Regions from separate parts of the Homo sapiens genome. Here region 2 is linked to region 1. Evidence: promoter capture Hi-C in human tissues and cell types (Jung and others, 2019). All regions are on one chromosome and are shown on one strand. The core of a region is centred on a gene start or on the middle of the fragment in contact, and the rest is flanking DNA. Distances in the headings are between cores, read along the strand shown. Region 1 holds the start of MMP17 (matrix metallopeptidase 17). Region 2 overlaps EP400 (E1A binding protein p400).

Region 1 (3,092 bases), core at 328-2,827:
TCTTGAGGAGGTGGAGGGGGGCACCCCAAGTTCACAGGCTGCCTGGCTGGAAGGAAGCCACTGTGGGGACCTGCAGGCACCTGGACGCGGGCAGCAGGGACAGTGGCCAGCACCCTCCCAGATGGCTTCGGGGCCTGGGGCAAACGGTGGCCAAATCGGCTTCCCATCCAGACCCCCTGGCCAAGTCCTGCCAACCACAGGGGCTGCGGGTGCCACCCAAGTGGCCCCTCCATATGCCTCGACTGCCTGAAATACACCTGCGCTGACTTGCTTGGACCCCAAGGTTTTGGAGCTCCTGAATGTCCACTGCGCTGGGCGAGGGGCCCTGCCAGGACCCCACTGGGAGACTGTCCGCGGACGAGGGCCAGGCCGAGTACTTGTGTGGGGCGGGGAGGCCTCGGCTCCTGGCCCGACTCCCTGGGTAGGAGTCCATTGAAGGCAGCGGTGGGGCAGGAGCCTCAGAAGGAACCAACGAACCCAGCGGGAGTTCACCCGGCCGCCCCAGCGGGGGGGCGCTGACCCCACGACGTGTGCTCTAAATCTTCCGGGTCCACAGGAGACGCGAGTCCCGGCTGCGGAACAGGGGAGGGGGCTGTAGGAAGAGGCCACGTCGCTGCCCCCAGGCAGGGTTTCTAAGCTGAGCTGGGGACAGCTACTGGGTGTGGAGTGAGGAAGGCTCTCCCCGCGCCCCCGGCTCAGCACTGTACCAGGGCAAGGCAGGGCCAGCCTGGCCGACCTGGGGTGGAGGGGAAGGAGGCTGAGGGCCAGGTCCTTGTCCAGTGGGGAGCTGGGGGCCAGCATCCCTGTGCCCCCAACACCCTCAACCGAGCAAACTCGGGGGCTCAAGGCTTTCGGGGTGCCCCCACTCCGTAGCCCCTGCCCTTCCTCGCTTTGTGGGTGCGTGCTCCTGCCCCCGCCACTCCCACCCGGAACGCACGCAGCGCGCAGAGCTCGGGGCGGCCGCGATGCCTGCTCTCGCCCAGCCCGGCTGCTCCGGGGCTGCTGCAAGCCGGCGACCCGGGCTCCGGGTGGGCGACCCCCTCACAACTCCACGGGCTCCTGCGGCTGCGGCGCGCTCCCAGCGCACGGAGCCGGGACGGCAGCCGGCGCCTCCCCAGGACTCGCGTGCGCTCGCCCGGTCGCTCAGCCCGCGTCCCTGCCTCAGTCTCCCCACCCAGGAAATGGGTCCAGGGCGCCAGGGCTCCCGCGCGACGCCGACGTGCACTGCTGGGGTCTTCCCGGTCCCCGCCACCCGGCCCGCGGAGACCCCCGGCTCCGGCCCAGGAGCTCCGCGCCCGTCCCGCCCGCGCGCTCACCACTCCCAGGCTGAGGTCCTCGGCGCGCGGCGCGGGTGCGGGCGCGGCGCAGCCCCCGCGGGTCCCCAGCGCCAGCAGCAGCAGCAGCGGCAGCGGCAGCCGCGAGAGTCCGGGCCCTGGGGGCGGCGGGCCGGGTCCCCGGGCTGCGCGGCGCCGCATGGCGCTCACATGGGCCCGCGGGCGGCGTGCAGGGTCCCGCGCCCTCCGCTTCGCGTTCCGCAGCCCGGCGCCCTCCGCTCTCCGCGGCGCCCCCGCCGGACTGAGCCCCGCGCGGCAGCCTCAAGCGGCGGGGCGGGGCCATGCAAATGTATGCTAACGAGGCCGGCCGCCTTAAAGGGCCCGCGCCGCCTCGGACGCTGCCACCCCCGCCCGCCCCGCCGTGTCCGCGACGGGACTGGGTCCGCGGCATCACAGGGAAGGCGTTTCCCCGGGTGTCTTAGGACGCTCTTGGGGCGGCGGGGACGCGCGGGATGGGCGCGGAGGCGGGGGTCGGGGCGCCTGCGGGGAGCTGACCCTGACTCCCCTCTCCGGCCGCGCTCCCGGGTCCACCCCCCACGGCGCCGAGGCCCGGGTTCAGACCCGGGTTCAGGCCCCGGAGCCGCCGCCGCAGCGCAGCAGGTGGGCGCTTGGTGGAGCCCGCGGACCGCGGGAGAGGGAGGGTGGGGCTTGGGGGGCGCGGGGGACTGGAGGGCGAGGGCGGGTGTTGGGGGGGCTGGGGTCCTCGGCGGAGGCTCTGCGGTCCCTGCGGGCCTGGGAGCGAGAATGTTAACTTGTAATGTTTGTTGGAGCGCAGCGTGTGCCTGGCACATGCCCAGGAGTTACATAAATAATTTCATTTACTTACAACATTTATGAGATGAAAACTATGATTTCCATTTCGCAGACAAAGAAACTGAGGCCCAAAGAAATGAAGTAACTTATGGGAGGTCCTGGAGCGGGCAAGCGGCAGAGCCAGGGTCAGAGCCCGAGCAGGCGCTTGTGTGGATTGAACTCGTGCAAGTTGCGTACAGGCTGCCCACCGAGTGGGAGATCTTGGGAGAGGGCAGGGGGTGAGGTTCAAGGGTAACCCTTGCCTTTATTCAGCTTCTCCTCGTGCTGGACAGCATGGCTTCCCCTCCTTCCCAGGCCCTCCTGCTCCACCACCCCAAATCGCAGCTGGTACTGTCAGGACTGAGGTCTCATTCTACGGACAGGGAAACTGAGGCTCGGCCCCTTTTACCAGAACTGGTCTCAGGGAAGTGGTGCCCCTCCCCTCCTGTGAGGGCCGACTCCCCCCAACCACCCCCCCCCCCCCCCCCCCGCTTCCCTGGGTACTCTGGCCCATCCTGTCCCTGCTGCCCTCAGAGCCTCCCTGGCCCGGTCTGAACAGGGTGATTCCACACCTGCTTCAGATGACCTTGGTTCGGACTGATGGGATCACCTGTAGGAGGTGGGGACTTTCACAGGACATCCCGGATTGTTTTTTCTTTCTTTCTTTTTTTTTTTTTTGCTCTGTTGCCCAGGCTGGAGTGCAGTGGCACGATCTTGGCTCACTGTAATTTCTGCTTCCTAAATTCAAATGATTCTCCTGTCTCAGCCTCCTGAGTAGATGGGATTTCAAGCGTGCACAACCGTGCCCAGCTAATTTTTGTATTTTTAGTAGAGACGGGGTTTCACCATGTTGGCCAGGCTGGTCTTGAACTCCTGACTTCAGGTGATCAGCCCGCCTTGGCCTCCCAAAGTGCTGGGATTACAGGCGTGAGCCACCGCACCTGGCCTCATCCGGGATTTTGACCA
Region 2 (3,092 bases), core at 432-2,931, 250 kb before region 1:
GAGGCAGCCCTGCTGCCCTGACTACTGGCACGGAGGCTTAGTAGGTGTCTTTAGCCTGACAGCAGGGACCCTCATCTGTAACTTGGGCTGCTGGCTTGGGCTGTCGGAGCTGGCGGGCACCTGGGCTGGGTTGGGAGCGCCTGGAGTCTGGAGCGGGGCCGACGCCGTGGTCACCACCTGCTGCTGAATGAGTTTCTGCTGAACCACCTGGGCAGTCGCGGTCACTGCAGGGATCATCTGCACCTGCTGCCCGGCCGCCGTCGCCTGCGTGAGCGCCACAGTCTGTGGAGAAGCCTGAGCCGAGAGAGTCAGAAAACACACATTGCCCAGGAAACTCAGTCCAGGGACAGGAAAATGGACGTTCTTTGGGATGGGGAGGACTCGAGAAACTTCACTGACTATGCTTTTATGACACGGAAGAATGACCAGTCACACAACAGTATGACCTCTGGTTTCCAATTAAACACAAGTGGAAAATTAAAAGATGGTTGCTTTTAGACTAACACCAGATGCCTCTTGGGAAAAGGGTGAGAGCTGGGTCAGGGACTGATTTTGTTGTTGTAGTAAAGCTTTTAATAGAGTTTGGTTTCTTGAAATCTATATGCCAGTGTGACTTTAAACAAAATTTAGAAAGTTTAAAGCACCGCTTTACATTTAAAGCACTGTGCTAAAGAGTCATATTGTGGAGCATCAGTGACAACAGTGAAAGCGCCTGAAGGGCTTCTGTGGGAGGCAAGGCCACTGTGCCCACAGCGCCTCTGCTCAAGGGCGGGCCCCGAGCGGAGCCTGCTTGCCTGAGGCCTGTGCCTCCCTAAAACCACAGGGCAGTGTCTGCGACTTGCAGGACACACCCGCGATGATCAGTGAATGAAGGGTCCTGGGAATGAGCCCAAGGTGAGGCTCCCTCAGTATGGCTGACACAACCTCTAAACGCTTGTTCACTCTTCTCATTATTAAGTGTATCTAGTTTTTCCCCTGAAGTTAATGTTTTTGTGTGTATCACAAAAATCAAAAGTGATTCCCTAATCATGACCTCAGATGAAAACAACCCATTCTCTGACCTGGGAAATGTGAGGTTTCCACTTTGTCTATGCGTCCTACCTGCTGGGAAGCAGAGGCAACTTGCTGGATGCTGGCCACGGGTGTTTGCTGTTGAACAACTTGAGGAAGTTTTGCAACCTTTGACAAAACAAAAAAAGCCAAACATACAATTCAAAGGAGTATGTGCACAAAAAGAGATTTTTCCTCCCTTTCTGTCCTCAGTTAATGCAAAAAACACAATGACCAGGTGACACAGAAGAGCAATTCTCGTAGTGTGCCCACCTGCAGCAGTGAGAGAGCAAGTCGTTCCACTGCATGGTGAGTCAACTGACTGCCTCCCCAATTTGCCATCACTCATCATTTAAGCTTATTTTTGGTCTCATATTTCAGACACATTTTTTCTTTTCACAAAAACGACTGCAAGTTTATATGAAAGAATCAGACTGAGGATGGTAAGTATTTGAGCGTCTTGTGAGTCCCAAGGGCTCTGCATATGACAGGCCTGGACGACGTTCCAGTAATGAGCTGTACAGTGCAGCTAGGGCAGCCAGCTGAAGTGGGGAACCCGGTGACGCACCAAGGTTTTGAGGCTGGTAATTTTATCATTTTTCTACATTCTTCTTAGTCATGATTGAGATCTGGCTATTTATAAAGCAACACTTTCCACCCAGTGCCCACTTTCTGTGCACTTGCTACTGCATGCATCTCCCGCTGTCTTGACGTAGTAAGAGGCTCTGGGCCACCTGTGTGTCCTATCAGCACCGTCATGGCGTGCACCCAGAACACAAGAGAGGCTCCAGCGTGGGCAGCTGCTGGGGGCCCTGATTTCAAGGGCCCTCCCTGCACAAGGCCCTCACGGACCCTGGTCTCTTGCTGGGTCCTGTTACTTACAGAAAACGGATGAAAATAATATTTCCCAAGATTATTCTGCGAAATATGTGAAATTACATGATTTACTCACACATGAACAAAGGTCGAAATAAATGTTAGTCCTTACTAAAATTAAAATCAATCAGAAGGCATTTACTAGTTTACTGTCACTTAAACAATTATAAATAAAATTCACTAAGATAAGTGCCCTGAGCGCCCCCTGTGGAACTGCTGGGAAACAAAGATGCAGCCGGTGCTCCAGGGCCCATCTCAAGACCACAATGGTCCAGGACTTACTTGGCACAGCACTGAAAATCCTGAGACGTCTTAAATAAAGCACTAGCAAGAAATCTTAAATGTACCAAGAAACCTGCAAAGAGTCAGGAACTGCCAGTCTCCAAACCTAAGCACAGGCGGGCATCACGAGTCACGGAGCAGAAAAGCTGCACAACCTCTGCCCGGGATCGCTGGCCACATGGAGACGCACCCCGTGATCTCCAGGGTCGCACAGGACACAGCTGACCAGACACCAGGTATAGGCCAGTTCTCGGTGGGGAGCTTGCAAAAGAGCCCCGTGCTACTGCCAGCTGCCATCCTGGAGGGAGACACTGTACCCACAAAGGTACCCAAAGGCTGCAAAGAAAGCATCCCCTTCCTCCAGTGGCATCTGTAAGAAAAGCACCTGCCCTAAGCCTCAGTGCCGGGGAGGAGAGAGGAGGAGACACAGATTCAGAGGCCAGGTGGGTAACACCTGAGAGCTGAGTGAAAGCCTGAGCCACACACCAAGCAGTGTTCCTGTGGCACCTGAAGGTGCCCGCGGAAGCAAAACTCCACCTTTGCCCCAGGCTGCGAGGGGTCCCCGCAGATGCAGCACATTTCAGACAGGGAAATCACCAGATCCAGAAAAACACCTCACTCACTCTGCGAGGCCTGGAAACAAGAGACTATAAACAAAGACCAGGCATTATTTGGGAACTTCTGAAAATAAAATAATAAATCATCAAGATAAAAATTCAACAGACAAGCTTTGAAGCAGATTTGACTTAACCAAGGGAAAAATGAGTGACTGAGGAGACAGAGCGAAAGACATGACTCAGAATATAGTACGACGAGACAAAGACACAGAAAATACAAAAGCTGCTGAGAGACCTGGAGGGCAGAGGAAGCAGGACAGGGGCAAC

Evidence for each region. Contacts are between HindIII fragments. The study calls those that stand out against the background at their distance.
Region 2: a fragment that was not itself captured here is called in contact with the fragment with the promoter of MMP17 in region 1 in 4 of the 25 tissues and cell types used here (dorsolateral prefrontal cortex, pancreas, spleen and 1 more).

Annotation. Positions count from the first base shown.
Region 1 is chr12:131,826,878-131,829,969 of GRCh38, reverse strand. It overlaps MMP17 (matrix metallopeptidase 17), which reads right to left and starts at 1,577. Exons shown (of 10, transcript NM_016155.7): 1 at 1,317-1,577. The coding sequence starts at 1,475. RefSeq lists a silencer at 1,583-1,712. The HindIII fragment of the contact is 32,715 bases long and covers 1-3,092 here.
Region 2 is chr12:132,074,603-132,077,694 of GRCh38, reverse strand. EP400 (E1A binding protein p400) reads right to left here. Exons shown (of 53, transcript NM_015409.5): 52 at 1,102-1,179; 53 at 1-294. The coding sequence ends at 22. Among named protein-coding and RNA genes, the nearest start is that of SNORA49, 45 kb to the right of the region's middle. The HindIII fragment of the contact is 6,004 bases long and covers 1-3,092 here.